Linked DNA regions of Homo sapiens: region 2 is linked to region 1. Evidence: promoter capture Hi-C in human tissues and cell types (Jung and others, 2019). All regions are on one chromosome and are shown on one strand. Each heading gives the region's core, a stretch centred on a gene start or on the middle of the fragment in contact. The rest is flanking DNA. Distances are from core to core; before and after follow the strand shown.

What was found. The method cuts DNA at HindIII sites, captures the fragments that hold promoters and counts their contacts. A contact is called where the count stands out against the background at its distance.
Region 2: a contact is called between a fragment that was not itself captured here and the fragment with the promoter of PENK in region 1, in 1 of the 25 tissues and cell types used here (H1 embryonic stem cells).

Annotation. Positions count from the first base shown.
Region 1 is chr8:56,444,263-56,452,034 of GRCh38, reverse strand. It overlaps PENK (proenkephalin), which reads left to right and starts at 5,394. Exons shown (of 4, transcript NM_001135690.3): 1 at 5,394-5,466; 2 at 5,554-5,609; 3 at 6,079-6,219. The coding sequence starts at 6,082. It overlaps PENK-AS1 (PENK antisense RNA 1), which reads right to left and starts at 6,228. Exons shown (of 4, transcript NR_125813.1): 1 at 5,535-6,228. RefSeq lists an enhancer at 5,732-6,623. The HindIII fragment of the contact is 6,864 bases long and covers 337-7,200 here.
Region 2 is chr8:56,797,192-56,804,963 of GRCh38, reverse strand. No RefSeq gene overlaps it. Among named protein-coding and RNA genes, the nearest start is that of BPNT2, 190 kb to the left of the region's middle. The HindIII fragment of the contact is 6,423 bases long and covers 1,328-7,750 here.

The DNA.
Region 1 (7,772 bases), core at 4,145-6,644:
CCCATCTGGTAATTCTAACATCTCTGACATATCTGAGCCTGGTTCTGATGCTTGCTCTGTCTCTTCAAACTGTGGGGATTTTTTTTTTTTTTTTTTGGTTTTTAGTATGTCTTGTAATTTTTTCTTGACAGCCAGACTTGATGTACTGGGTAAACGGAAATGTTATAAATATGCCTTTAGTAATGTGTTGATAAAGCAGGAAGGGAGTGTTCTGCAGTCCTCTGAGTAGGTCTCAGTCTTTAGTGAGCCTGTACCTCTGGGCTGTGAACTTTACATATGTTCTTAGTCCCCAGCCTCCCCTTCAGTAGAACACAATGGCTGGAGGGGGCTGGAGTTGGGTATTTCCAGTCCCTCAGGTCAGCTATTTTCTGATAAAACTTCAGGAGATTAGACTCTGGTTAACTAGGTTCTCCTGTGGGCAAACCTTGTTAGGAACACAATGTTCCGGTGTATTTCAAAATGGCTCTTTTTTCCCTCCCACTGCTTGAAGCACAAGGGAAATTTTTTCCATTATTCATTGTGAGAACCTGGTTGAACACCTGTAAGTAAAACTCATGAAAGTGTGGAGGCCTCCGTGGACTGGGTTCTCCTGGAATTTTTATCTCAGATTTGTTCACACAGTTTCCCGGAATTTGTCAGCTGTAGTTCAGGTTTTTCTACCTCCCAACTGATTCTCTGGGAGGTTTCTGCACCAGCAAGCCAGGACCCCCTGTGTTTGCCTGTTGGTCTCTCCAATTTGGGGGGACAGTGGTTTCCCCTGTGACCCAACCTCTATGATAGATCTAAGAAGAGTCGTGGTTTTTCAGTTTGCTCAGTTTTTATTTGATAGCTTTGAAAGATTTGAGTGCTTTCCCTATATAATTTTATTAAAACAGTTTGACCTCTTGGGTCTATCCCACCATTCACCATCACTTGGGAGCTATGGAAGATGTAACTATAAGCAAAAACACATGTTTTAAAAGCAACTTCACTGAGTCTCTACTATGTGCAAACATCTGTGCTGTGGATCATACGCAAAGGGATTCCCTTAAGAACTTGGTATCCTGCAGCCATTGCATTCATTCCAATAACTTACTATTGATCAAAATCTATTTAGAACTTCTCTTCTAGCATTCCTTCAACTGTGGAAATTGTCTGTGGTGGATGAATATTTTTGAATGCCTTCTATACAGGTCCCATAAGTGGGATCTAATATTTGATTTCAGAAACAACCAAAACACCAAATCAAAGTCAAGTTGTTGAATAAGGTTTGAATCCAATGAGGTGACACAATTTTTTTTGTGATGGAGTCTTGCTCTGTCGCCCAAGCTGGAGTGCAGTGACGCAATCTCGACTCACTGCAAGCTCCACCTCCCAGCTTCCTGCCATTCTCCTGCCTCAGCCTCCTGAGTAGCTAGGACTACAGGCACCCGCCACCACACCCAGCTCATTTTTTTTGTATTTTTATTAGAGACGGGGTTTCACTGAGGCAACACAATTTTTTAACATTGACTGGTTCTCTCACGTGGCTATTAAATTTCTCAAGGCAATTTCAAAAGTCATTATTAAAAGTCGAGCTGCTCAAGACATACTCTATTGGTTGGACTCACAGCTATATCTTATTTTAATCTAATTTTTCATAATAGGACTTGCTTTATTCATTGTCTAATTACCTATACTTAATAGTAAGATTGATCTTTTCCCTCCTGGAGAGCAAAAGGCCAAAGTTAGGAAGTGTGTTTCAATCCTCCCTAAGTTTACAGTACATAAACAATATGTTTGATATTCTTGGTTTAATTTACCTTCCCTTTCTCCCCACCTCCTCTGACACATTGACATGTTTTCTATTATTTAAACTCATTCTATTATTTAATTTATATTATTTAAACTCTTTCTATTATTTAATCTGGCAACTTTGTACCAGATTACCTTTTCTTCCTAGAGTTTTATTCTATTTCCTGGTACATTTTCCAGAATGTTCCAACACTGACTTTCCTTAAAATGGGGTTTGTGACACCATAAAACATCTCGTTCAAGCCAACCCCACTTCCAGCTGCTCTGTTATGGTGTTCTGAGCCAGTCTGAAAAAGAATCCCTTAACAGTGCTACTTCACAGTTATATGCCCAACTCACAGAATCACATTTTGCAAACTGTGCACTTTAGATTGTAACTGAAAACGGGGATGTCTCCCCTGACTCTGGCATGACTCCAAACATCTGAAATGTTAGAACATGTTGCTTTTATGCTGAACCATCACACAATTGCCTGAGTGCTGAAGGGGCTTGTTTCCACTACTGCTACTTTAGAGAGAGGGGGGCAGACAGAAATGGCTTTCTGTAATAAAACACGTGTGCTTGGGTGACAGGAAGGGGAGGGGAGCAGAGGAGTGAGTACCAGAAAGACGTCATTCAATTTAGCCATCTTCCATCTGAAAATAATGGAAGAGGACACTAAAAGAACATTGTAAAATCCCACCTTTTTAGACTCTGAGAACACCTAAGAACTGAGTAAAATGCCATTCATCATCAGGGTTAAAAAGTCAGATTTCTTGGTCTCTAGGATGAATCCCTTTGGGCAAATGCTTGGGACCCTAGGATCAGAAGATGAGTTATTGATCCTAACCTGAAAATAAAAAATGTCTGGATTGAATGCTTTAAGACAGAGCCCCTTCCCTTTTTTAGTCTGATTTCTAGAGCAGCTTTCTCCCAGATCATAACTGCAAAGTCTGTTCACTCTTGATAAATATTTAAAAGATGATGAAAAAATGAATTTCTTACAACTCATTGCCACCAGAATGACTTTTAGTTTCTCAGGTCGATGGGGGAGGATGATGGGAAGAGATGTCACTGATTTGGGGTAGGCAAACAAGGTCGACCTCCTATCACTTCATTCATTCAGTCAGTCAGCCGGTCGACACACATTTACCAAGCAACCACTGTGCCCCAAGCATCTAGGAAGGTCTCGTGGGGGACTGCACACTCTTGCACTGCCCCTAGGAGGCGCCCTCTCTTTCCCTTTCTGTTTCTCTCTCCCCTGACATTTCAGGAGTCTCAGGGGAAAATGCAAATGCGCCAAGAGACCCTAACTCAGAGCAAACATGACTAGTTCCAACAGAAACAAACTAGGCCTGAGGTAGGTTTCGGGAAGGAACTCAGAGGCTGGAAAACCTGGTCTGCCACTGCCCTGGCTGGTCACTCAGACGTTCTGAGCCTTGGTTTTTACCATCTGTAGAACGGGCGGTGGAATAAATTATCCCTAAAACCTCTCCCAAACTTAAGCTTCTACTTTTCCAAGATCCTAACGAGCCTTTGTGTCGCCAGGGTGCAGAAATGCACTGTTTCCACTACTGCGCGCTGTGCACCCTTAAAAAGCATCGCGTGATGTGGTCATTCCAAACACACACACACACACACAAACACACACACACACACACACACACCTACCTCAGCCTCCCGCTCCTGATTATGCGTTTAAAGTTCTTAGGTGATCCCAGGTTCGCAAGTGCTCAGCTATAGCAAGTTTCCTTTAATTTTAGGTAGAATTTGTTCATGCAATACTTTCGCACTGAGTACTGCAGTGGAGTCAGCTTCCTTTCCAAAGCCCAGGCAACAAGGAAAAATCTGAAGTAAAGACAAAAGCTCTCCTTTGCCTTGGGGAGAGAGTAAGGAGCTAGTAAGGGGCCCCATGATGAAAAGAACCTAAAGCGGGAAACATTGTGTTTTCCTGCTCAGAGGGTAATGCTGGCTCCCTAGGGCTATGTCCGGGGTTCTCCAGCCCCACTCCAGGGCTCTGCTTTCCCGACCTTGCTACCGTGATGCCCCGGCCGGGAGGCAGGCGGTGCTCGGGTGCAGCTTCGGGGCTAATCCGAGGGCTGCGTGTCAAGCCCGCACATTGAGGCCTGCGGAGAACTGAGACCCCAGTCCCCGCAAGCCCAGCCTACGCAGGAGAGCGCTGCCCTCTAGCGACTATAATGGGACATGCAGCGCGGCCGGAGCCCCGCGGGAGCAGCGCCGCTGCAGGTCCTAGCGACTGTAGAAATCAGCCCTTTGCAGAGGGCGCAGAGGGCCTGGAAACCTCTGGGACCTTTTCCCAGGAACTGTTTATGGTTTCCCCCTAGGTCTAGGAGACATAGATGCATAGGTGGATTGGATACATCGATGGTAGCTATAAGGTAAGCAGACAATGGTCACAGATGGAAAGGTGGACGGACGGATGACGGATGGTTAGAAGATGTTTTGAGGGCTTGCTATAGTGCCAGGCACAAGGCTAAGAGATTTCGTCCACTATTTCATTTGATTCTCTCCAGAACCTTATGAATGGCATATTACCTCTGTTCCTATTTTTCAAATAGGGAAACTGAGGCCTCAGGCAATGTAAGCAGCTTGCCGCTTAGCAATCTTTTGCAGAGCCAGGAAGCGGGAAAGCGTGTCTTAATGGACAGTACCAGCCTCCACAGTGTGCCCTCGGCCCCCTCCCGGTGGAGAAGAGGTTCCAAGCCCCGGCGTCCCGGGTAGGGTGTCCCTCATCCCTCCCTCCCCACCACACTCCTGGCGCGCTGACATTACACCCGCCCCGGCACCCCCCTCTCACTGATCCAACACCCCCGGACACCCTGGACAGCGCTCTCAAGGCAGTAGGTCTTCGACTTGGGAGCCCCGGGGAGCTGGTTAAACACGGATCCTCTCCCACAGTGGCTGAAAAGCGCGCAGTCCCGGAACCTGAGGGTTTACCTGCTTCTACGCTTGGCCAAGGGTCTCTAACTGGAAAGGTGAAAATTCTGTCCTGAGATTTTAAGATTCCCAGAAACTTTCAATCGTTCAGTTCCTGTAACCATTAATTGAGCGCCTAAACTGCGCACCTTGACGCTGTTAGATGCTGCAGTAAGGAACTCGGAGTCAAGTGTGGGGGACAGGTTGGTCAATAAATGACGACATTCCGGACGGCTGTGCTTGGTGCCCACGGGGACCCGCGAGGGGGCCCAGGGAGGAGGCGGGAAAGGGGCAGGTTCACCGGCCCGCTGGGTCTCCAGCACATTCCAGAAGTCTAAGCCAGTCCATCTATCCTTCCAAACGCCCCCACCTCGCTTCCCTCCCTGGAGCCCGCATCCCACGGTGCAATTTCAGTGACTTTATGCGGAGAAACTTGATCCTATCTCACTCTCCCCAAACTTCCTAACTGCCTTGGGTTTGTCACCTGGCCGTGTGGGGAGCCACCGAGCGCCCCCTGTGGCCCCCACCCGAGCTCGGCGGGGGGAGCGGCGCGCGGGTGCTGGGGGACCGACCCCTCCCGCGAAGGCGTCGGCGCGGGGCTGGCGTAGGGCCTGCGTCAGCTGCAGCCCGCCGGCGATTGGGGCGCGCGCGCCTCCTTCGGTTTGGGGCTAATTATAAAGTGGCTCCAGCAGCCGTTAAGCCCCGGGACGGCGAGGCAGGCGCTCAGAGCCCCGCAGCCTGGCCCGTGACCCCGCAGAGACGCTGAGGACCGCGACGGTGAGGCCCTACGTCCGCCAGCACACCCGGGCCCGCTTCTCCCCGACGCCCGCCCTCCTCACACTTGCCTTCTTCTCTTCCCTCTAGAGTCGTGTCTGAACCCGGCTTTTCCAATTGGCCTGCTCCATCCGAACAGCGTCAACGTGAGTGAATTTGCCCGAAGCTTGTCTTTGCTGAGCGGGTTTGGGGACGTCTGCCCGCCCTCTTTCCCTTCACATTTCATTGCATGGGTTCCCCAACAGCGTTCCCTGGTTCTTCTTTGTGACCCCAGTCAATGTCCTGCCTCCCCCGGCTCCCGCTCTCTCGCCCCTGGTCTGCGGCGTTCTCTCCGGAATCTTGCCCTGGGCCGCGGACGCCCAGGAAAAGAGCCGGGTGCCCCAGGCAGCCTCGCGTTGGGGGCGACCGCGCCATCCCGGGAACCGCGAGGCGATCTGAGTCGCCTCCACGTCTACCTAAAAGCTGTCGGCCGGGAGGGCGGGGCCCCAGAAAGGAGCATTCCTGCGGGCTTTTGCTCGACGATCCCCTGCTGAGGCTGTCGCGGCGAGGGTCCTGCCGAGGGACCCCGTTCTGCGCCCAGGCAGGCTCGAAGCACGCGTCCCTCTCTCCTCGCAGTCCATGGCGCGGTTCCTGACACTTTGCACTTGGCTGCTGTTGCTCGGCCCCGGGCTCCTGGCGACCGTGCGGGCCGAATGCAGCCAGGATTGCGCGACGTGCAGCTACCGCCTAGTGCGCCCGGCCGACATCAACTTCCTGGTGAGTGTTGCGCGCGGCGAGTGTTGCGCACCTTGTGAGACAGAGTTTCCGCAACAGTACGCGGACTGCCTCCGGCCCACCGCGCGGCGCGTATGGCGGTTCGCACCGGGTCGGAGCCGCAGCGGCGCGAGCCCGTGGTGACCTGGGTGTCTCAGCTGTTCCTGGAACACTGACTGAAGTCCTGCCCTGGCTCTTAGCTTCGGGGATCCGCGACTATCTGGGGACCGGTAAGGGTAGCGGTGTCGCCGCACAAACCAAGTTTGTTTTAACCCTGGGAATTCGGGAACCCCGAGAAGTCCTCTGTTCAGCACCTCGGATAGCACTGGGTTCTCTCCTGGGCTGTCAGAAGGAAGATGGCTGTCACCACAACTCCTAACATATCCCAGCTAAGGGCCCCTCCACACGCAGTCATCTTCCCATCTTTCCCACAAATAATGTAATTTTTTGTTAGTGACATTTCGGTGCCTTTCTTTAGATTTATGTTCCCCAGCTCTCTTAACCTCAGGTCCCTCATTCCCTACCCTCACCTGTAAATAGGAGAGAGCAAAGGGATGGAAAAGGGGTACGGGGAGAGGAAGGCGAAATAACCGTAGACAGGAAAGAGTTCAAACTGTCTCACTAGCCAGTGATGCTGGAATTCAACTTCTGTTTCAACTGCCCTTTGTAATAGTAACTAAAACAACAGTTTAATTTGGCTATGAGAAAGGAACAAGAGAAGTGGCCAGTGTCCAATGGGTGACAACAGTCCAAAGATACACTGCACTACAGGGGGTTGGGGAAAGAAAAAGCTGAGGACAAAATAACTTTCATTCTGATCATGGTTCCCCATGGGCTGTCGAATCACCTCTGGTGCTCTACTGAGTCTGAATCTCCAACCTCGAGACTCAGGTAGCTTCACTTTTACCAGCTCCCCTGACAATTCCTTTGCATTGCTTTTGAAATTTGTTGAAATTTTATGGTGACTTAAAAAGCTCATAGAGAATAATGTATTCATCCAAGCTGCTTTGGGTTCCACCTGGAATTGAGGAAATTTTACCTTATGTAGATGTTTGAAATGGGGAGAAAACCAAGGAACAGTTTCCAAATATCTGTGGTATATATTTCAGGTTAAATGTTTGTTTCTTTGACCTGTGCTAACTTGGCATTAAAGAGAAGACACATAGGAAGGTTGTATATTTAAACTATGAGAAAAATGTTTCATCTTCAATAGGAGAAACAATCCCCTTCACCCATCTTTCTTCTTTCTCCTGTAGTCATGAGCTTTTAACCTATGCCTAAAAATTGAGCCAGTGCTACAAATATAAGGATAGATCTTGTGGATAAAGAATTTTAGACACAGAAGGAGGAAGAAAAATCCAAAACATGCCACATAGAAGACTCCACTTTCTGACCCCATAATTCCCTGTGCCCAGTCACACATATTTTGAGCTTTGCCTGCTCAACATGTCAGGGGCTCAGCCCCCTCCCCTAGCTTTCTCTGCCATCTGAATAAAGGTTATATGGATTCTAGTCTAATTTTTCTAATCACACAGACTGACCCCAAAGTAGTATCA
Region 2 (7,772 bases), core at 3,290-5,789, 350 kb before region 1:
GCCATCATTTCTCCAAATACATTATCAGTCCCACCCTCTTTCTCTTCTCATTCTAGAAATGTAATGATGAGAATGTTAGATCTTTTGTTATAGTCACACATGTCCAGAAATCTCAGTTCAATTTTATTTTAATCTATTTGCTTTCTGTTGTTCAGAATTGGTAATTTCCATTGTTCTATCTTCCACTTCATTGATTCTTTCCCCTTCTCTCTCCATTTTGCTATTGAACTCATCCATTGAGATTTTTAAGGAATAATATTTATTTGGTTCATCTTCATATCTTCTGTTTCTTTGCTGAGGGTTTCCAGTTTTATTTGTCACCACTCTAGTGGTGGTGGTGATGGATGTCTCAATACAGCCTAGAAGGGTGGAAGTCCAGACTCTCCACTCACAGCATTTCCTGGGAATGGGGGACAGATTTGGTAAGGTGGTGCCACTTTTTTTGCTGCCGAATTTATTTCCAGTAGAGCAGTTATTGTCTAAAAGTTTATTACACAGGATTTCAGCAATATTTAGAGAAAATTACTCCCCACTTCATAGTCAGAACTTTGCTAAGTGCTGTACTCAATGTGCTATAAATTAATGAGGTTTTCCAGTCTTACTCATGGGAACAAACACTATTCCCATACTTGTGAGATTCCGTGTATTATTCCCTTGAATCCTTTCAGTTGGTTCTTCCCTCAGCCTCATGTTTTTTCCTCATGCATGAATGTTGATAAAAATCATGTTGAATCATTGAGAAGGACTCTATACAGAGATCATTGGCGTTTCTCTCTGTACAGCTACCTCCTCTTCCAACTCTGTCCCGTCAACACCAGCTGCCCTTTTCTCTCCTAACTCTTAGCTCCATCTGCTCAACTTAAGTTATTTGTCAAACTCCACCTGTCTTCCTTCTGCCTGCATCACACTTTGCCAATTATCTCAAGTTAGTGAACTTGGCCATTGTTCGGACTGACCTCATTTGTTTCCTATTTCAGGGATCAGTAGCATTTAGTACCTTTTGTCCAATATATTGAAAACTGTTGTTTCACACATTTTTATCTCTTTTTAAAATTGTTTCAGGCAGGATGTAATACTATAGACCCTCTCACTTCATTTTGGCAGGAGGTAGAAGTCTAATAGAAAGGTTATGAATATATAAATGACTAGTTTTGAAGACAACTCCAATAGCCCAGTCTTCAGTCAGCAAATGCAATGCAACCATCAAGGAAGTGACCCAGGAAAGCTCCAAGGCAAAAACCTGTGGAACTGCATGAAATCCTTTGTGCTCAGCAAAAGCCAAGGGAAGAGTGAGAACATGTTAACTGCAGGGGTTATGTAAAGTAGCATGTAATAATAATTTTTAGTCATCAGCATTTGTCCTTTGATATTGGGCTACTATTTTTATCAAATTTCTATATAAAGGTACACATAAATCTAAATAAGATATTTAGCAATGAAAGAGACCTTACAAAATATCTAGCAAATCCCCTTTCCTTTCCACACAAGCCTTTACTGTAGAGTAAAAGGAGTCCTAAAATCATCAATTAATCTGTTCGAGGTTAAACAGCTATTTAGGGACAAACAGGATTTAGAACTTGCTCTCCTGCCTTCCGGTTCCTTGTACTTTCTATTATACCACATTAATAAGAATTCTAAATCCATTTTATTTTGTCTTAAATATGTCTTGTCTAGAATTGTAATATTAATGGGAATTTCCATTTTTTCAGTGCTTACTATGTGCTCGGTGCTTTACATGTGGTGTTTCATCCATAATACCAAACTTTGAAGAAACAAAACTTACCGAAGCTGATGCACTCATGAATGATAATGTTGGGATTTAAACCTAGGCCTGTCTACCTTTCAAAATCTGCATTCTTTTCAAAATACACTATTATTACCCTTGTCTTATTTCAACTTGTTTAATTATTTTTTATTTTATTTACCTTAGTTGATTATATAAATCTTGAGGGCATATACATTTTATTTTTTCTTCTTACTGCATGAACATAGTACAATCTATGTTCCTAAATAGCTCAATAATAATAAATTAGACAGTTGTTTAGGAAATTATTTAATTTCCATTTTTGAAGTGGCAATATTATATTACAAATCAATTAATTTGCTCGGGGCACACAGTATATTAATGATAGGACTTACCACTAAAGTTCCCAGATACACAATCTTTATACTTTTTGAACTGGATTTTAGGTCTTTGCTTTTTATTCATTTAAGTAGAATTAGGAATGTGGCAGTTCTCTCTGACAAAGAGTCAGATGAGAATGAGCTGAGAGGATAATAAACAAGGACAATAATAGTCATTAAAGAAAATGACTCTCCTGGGAGCTACATGAAGATATATAATATATCTGGAAATCAATCAACAACCATAAGCTACTAAATGGAACAACTCTAACTTTTGCTGAAAAGAAACTGTTTTGTGGTTTAATTTATTGTTCCTGTTACTACTCCTAATGAAATTGTTTTAAAGGACAATACCAGAGTTAGTTTGGAAGAGTTATTTCATTAAGGATGAATTCTTTTAAAATAGGACAGTGAGTGGAAATACTTGAAATAAATCCTTATTCAAATAAAGGATTTTAACTTGCCTCAATATTATAGAGATATTTGTTCCAAATGTGTTTTCATGAAGTCGATCAGACTCCACTTTAATCCATCATACTCTCATGGATTCTTTAAACCAGTCCAGTTTCCTGTTAAGTGGCTAAAAACTGAAAATATAAATGACTAGTTTTGAAGACAACTCCAACAGCCCAGTCTTCAGACAGCAAATACAATGCAACCATTAAGTAAGTAACCCAGGAATGCTCCAAGGCAAAAACTTGTGGAACTTCATGAAATCCTTGTAGATGTGCCTCTTGAAATGAGAAGCTGACTTGTATTATTTGCCAATTTTTGTGGTGTAAATAATCCCATCATGGCCAATTTCAAGCTACTGGCTCACAAAAGCCCTAGAAATTCCTAACATCAACTGGTTCACAAAATTCCTAAATATACGCTGATGGTCTCTCATGGGTCAATGTGAGGTAGCTATTACATACCACTGTCTTCAACTCAAAGGCAAGATAAACTCTTTTCTGACCCATAGCAGGTTCTCTTTAAGAAAATTTCACTGGTCATTTTTGCAGGAATCAGGGACGCAATGTGGCATAAGGCAAGCTCCCTGCCCTCTAAAGGCTTAAAATCTAACTGGGAAGCAGGATTGTCACAAAATATAAATAATGACATGAAACAACAACTACTCTTCCAATAATTGGTATTTAGAAATAAATGCTAATGGATTCTGTAATGTCAACAATTTATAAATAAAATGTGCTTGTATTCTTTAGGATCTTGGTATAGCATCACCTTTGTTTGATTTTTCAAGACTGAATATTTCAAAACAAAAACAAAAGAAAGAAAATCTAAATATAGAATGGAAAAAGTAAATGATCATGTGTTTCTATGCTGGCACAATCTCAATTTTCTGGACAAATGATACATATCTTTAGGATCTTAAGTTCCATATTTGTTCATTTATAAGTTAATTTTTTGAGCTTGTGTATCACAGACAGTTACTGAATGCCGAGCATACAAAGAGAAACCAAGATACGGTTCAGTATTAGTCATCTATTGCTGTTGTAACATATTGCCACAAACTTACTGGCTCAAGACAACAAAAATGTGTTACTTTATAGTTTGAGAAATCAGAAGTCTGAAATGGGTCTCATTGGTCTCATGGGCTAAAATCAAGGCATCAGTAGGACTGCATGCCTTCTGGAAGGTCTAGAGGAGAAGCCCTTTCTTTGCCTTCTCTGGCTTCTAGAGTTCACCTTCACCCTCAGTCTTTGGCTACTGGCTCCCTTCCTCCATCTTCAAAGCCAGCAAACTCTGGCCGAGTCTTTCTCACCTAACATTACTCTGACACTGACTCTTTTGCACTCTTCATCTACTTTCAGGAACCCTTGTGATTACACAGAGCACATTTGCATAATCCAGGATAACCTCCCAATTTTAAGGCCAGATTATTAGTAACCTTAATTCCCTCTGCAATCTTAATTCCCTTTTGCCCTGTAAACAGTTATATTTGCAAGTTCTGGAGATTCGAATGTGAACATCTTTGTGGAGGGCGCACAAAATGCTTATAATACCACAGGTCATTATATTGAAGGAAGTCAAAATATGAGTTTTTGAAGCAGACACATGAGCATCCATTTAATCCCTAAATGTTGCTGATCCCTTACGATCTCATCCACTCACCTGACTTATGCACTCATGCCCTCTCATGGTTTCTGTTACTATCTCTCTGTAGACAACTCCTAATTCTATATAAATTTATCCCCCTAAACATGGACTATACATCCACTTGCCTCTTACCTATACCACACTTATTGTGAACATGACTGAAAGCATTTCCCTCCCAACCCCTTTCCTTCTGTATTCTATGGTTTAGTCTACACCACCACCAGGCACCTTGTGGAAACCTGTGAGTCAGCCTCAATTCTTCCTTTCTCATTGACTCGTCCTAAATAAATCAGCGGTGAACTCTTTTACCTCTATTATTTCTCAAATTACTTTATTTTCCACAGCCACCACAATGCAATATGCAGAAGGCACCACGAAACTCCTTGGAGAATTTCCCCCCAGCACTGTGCCATTTTATGCTCCTCACCTTTGCTCAAGCATCTCCCTGTCGGGAATGGCCTTCCCCTCTCTGCCTGGCTGACTCTGACTCATACCCTGGGCTGGGGTAGGTTTCTCCCTCAAGGCCCTCACAGAATTCACTGTGTCTATACATTGCACATGCCTCCTGGTCCCTAATGACTCCATTGTATATTCCCCTCTTCTAGAACATGAGAAGCTCCTCAAGAACAGGGACTGTCTTAGCCATCACTTTCCCTTTGTCTAGCACAAGCCAAGATGAAAGGCTCTCAATAAACATCTCTTCTAAAAATACTGAATAGATCATAACCAATGTGTAGCGGCCTTAGAATAACTTACAGTTTTGTCTACTTAGATACTATGCTATAAGGATTTAGCATTTCAAAACACAAAAAAGCATTTTGAGCTCACTGGCCATAGTTTAAAAACTGTAAAGTGCTATCAGTAATGAATGCTAATAAGTTCATCCTGAAGGAAGCAGATTTGTTAATAACAATCTAACTATGCATATCATAATTACATCACTTCACAATTTATTTTAAACTCATCTGTCTAGTGACTGGCTTCTATTCAGTGTGTAGAAAGCAAATCCTAAAGCCTAGTGTATATGATAGAGCTGAGATCAGAAGTGGCTCTGAGATAGTGAGCACCAGACTTCTAGCATACTCCCCCACCCCCTGCCACTTTGATCTCAGAGGGTGGGCTGCAATGGAGAAGGCATGCAGGAGACAGAGTGGCTGGGAGGGTGTTATCCATACTCAGCAGAATAAGCTAGACCAGCTGCAGTGTAGAGTTAGGAGTATTAGAGTTAAGGAAGCTGAATAAGGGGAACTAATTCTGAAACTAATTTGTCAAGACCTGGAGGAAAGCATCTTGACTATAAATGTGATTAGGATCTAGAGTGTGTTACCTCAGGAATTTGTCAAATTTTCAGGCCTAGAACTCATGAATATGAACACTAGGCCAGATATATTGGACACTTATATCTGTCTTGCCCAATTTATTTGCCAGCCTGTAGGCAGAGGATTAGGTACAAGAACTTGGTAATGGAATGTTTTGTCAAGACAGAATGCTTCTTGAATTAATTGAGACAGTCAATAATTTTAAACACTTAAAAGTTCTAACAATGTTTTTTCAATGCAGGAATAAGGCATTGAGTTCAGTCTACTAACATTTTGTAACCTTGAATAGGATGATAACTGAAAACCGAGACACAGTAAATTACATTAGGATGGGGAATAATCACCAAGTACACTGTCCTTATTTTCCTCTGCTGGAAATTAAATGATTGCCCTGCCCACAAGTCATATTTTTGTCATTTTAGAACAGATTGTTCATGAAGGCTCAGTATGACAGCTGCATCTGAGAGTCTTTCGCACCCCCAGGAAATGCAATGAAGGATCAGTCCATTTTGCACATTCTCAATCTTGTATTCTACTGCTTTGAGGGACCCTGAGGAAATTCCATTTCCCTTCCCCATTTCTGGATAACACATTAGTAGGTACTTTAATTTCCTCAAGAAATATTCTACCTCTATTGAATTCAACTTTATCTTAGAATGTTAAACATTTTGTATCTACATAGAAGATCACATGATGGGCAATCAGCTTTCTAATATTATAAATCAGTGTCAGATTATTAATAAATAGATAAAATTAAGATGTATTAATAAGAAGACTAAAAAATTACCAAATCAAATACTATTTTCTTTCTTACTGGATTTTGCATTTATTGAGGCAGTCAAGTGGTGTAACTAATGAATTGTTTCTTCTATGTTAACCAAATTAACAAATGTGAAATACTTAGAATGGTGTCCAGCACATAGTAAGCATTATGTAACAATTTCACTACTCATATTATTATTGTTTTTATTATCTTCTTAAAGTAAACATGGGACATTTTCAGTGAAAATCTACTAGTCCTTTAATGAATTCAATAAGAATTTCTTTAGCGTTCTAGGCAAGATGTGGATGGGCAGACAGACTGGCTACTTGCAAGCTTATCACACACACAATATTTCCTACAATTCATTGAACATTCTCTATTTCCAAACATTTGGCTAAGTGTTTTGCTAAGATATTTCACTCATTTAATTCTCATAACCCAAATAAGAAGATTGGCTTTTATTAGCCTTGTTTTACAGAAAAAGAATGTAAGGTATAGAGAAGTAATGTAATATGCACAGTAGTCAGATGAATTTATAAAGCCAAGACCTTCATACTCAAGACCCATGTTTTCAACCAGGACCTCTTTCATATCTCCATGGTTTATATGAACTCATCCTCAAGATGATTTAAAAACATGGTTGTAAGTGGTTAGTCTACTTCTTACAATTCAATACAGCAAATATTGATTGACCATTTACCTTGGCATATCAATAAAATCAATTCTATGTATCATTTCTATCTAGTCTACCCACATATTGGGATCAATATCATCAGGGACATGAAGGATATGTAAGACTGTGCCACCTAGGGAAACTGAGTAAAGTTTTCTTTGAGGCTTGAGTCTCCATACTAGCTGTTAATCTCCCTTTTACAGGCTATCTGTAATTTTTCTCATTCTTGTACCCAAAGCACTCATAATATATGCATGTTTTCAAATTAGTCAGTTACACTATTATATTAATGACTGCTTCACTGACATCTCTTGGTTTATGATATTTAAATAATTATAAGTCATTGGTAAACTTATATTGAACATGTATGAGAAATCCATTTCCAAGGACCAGCATGTTTGTTAAAAATTTCTGAAAGTGAAAAAAAAATTTTCTGAAAGTGGTCAGAGCTCAGCTAGAAAACAATCTAAGAATTACTTAAGAAATAGTGCTGTTCTCAGATGAAGATTATGGCTTTGACTCAGAATGCAGACTCCTGGGAAACGGAGTTAGCCTGTAAAGTTAAGGCACTTGTTGAACAAATGAGCAACAGCTTATTGGTAACCTGGGGCTGAGCATTTGTGTAGTCCCTGTTTCAACCAATGGAGGACTGACTAAGCAACAGATGTGCTTAGAGCTGAGCTATAAAAATGTGTTGTAATTTAGATTGTTCATCTTAATTCTATCTATTATATATAGTATTGTGTTTGGTTCTCGGAAGTACATTTTATGAAGGATATTGGCAAACAAAGAT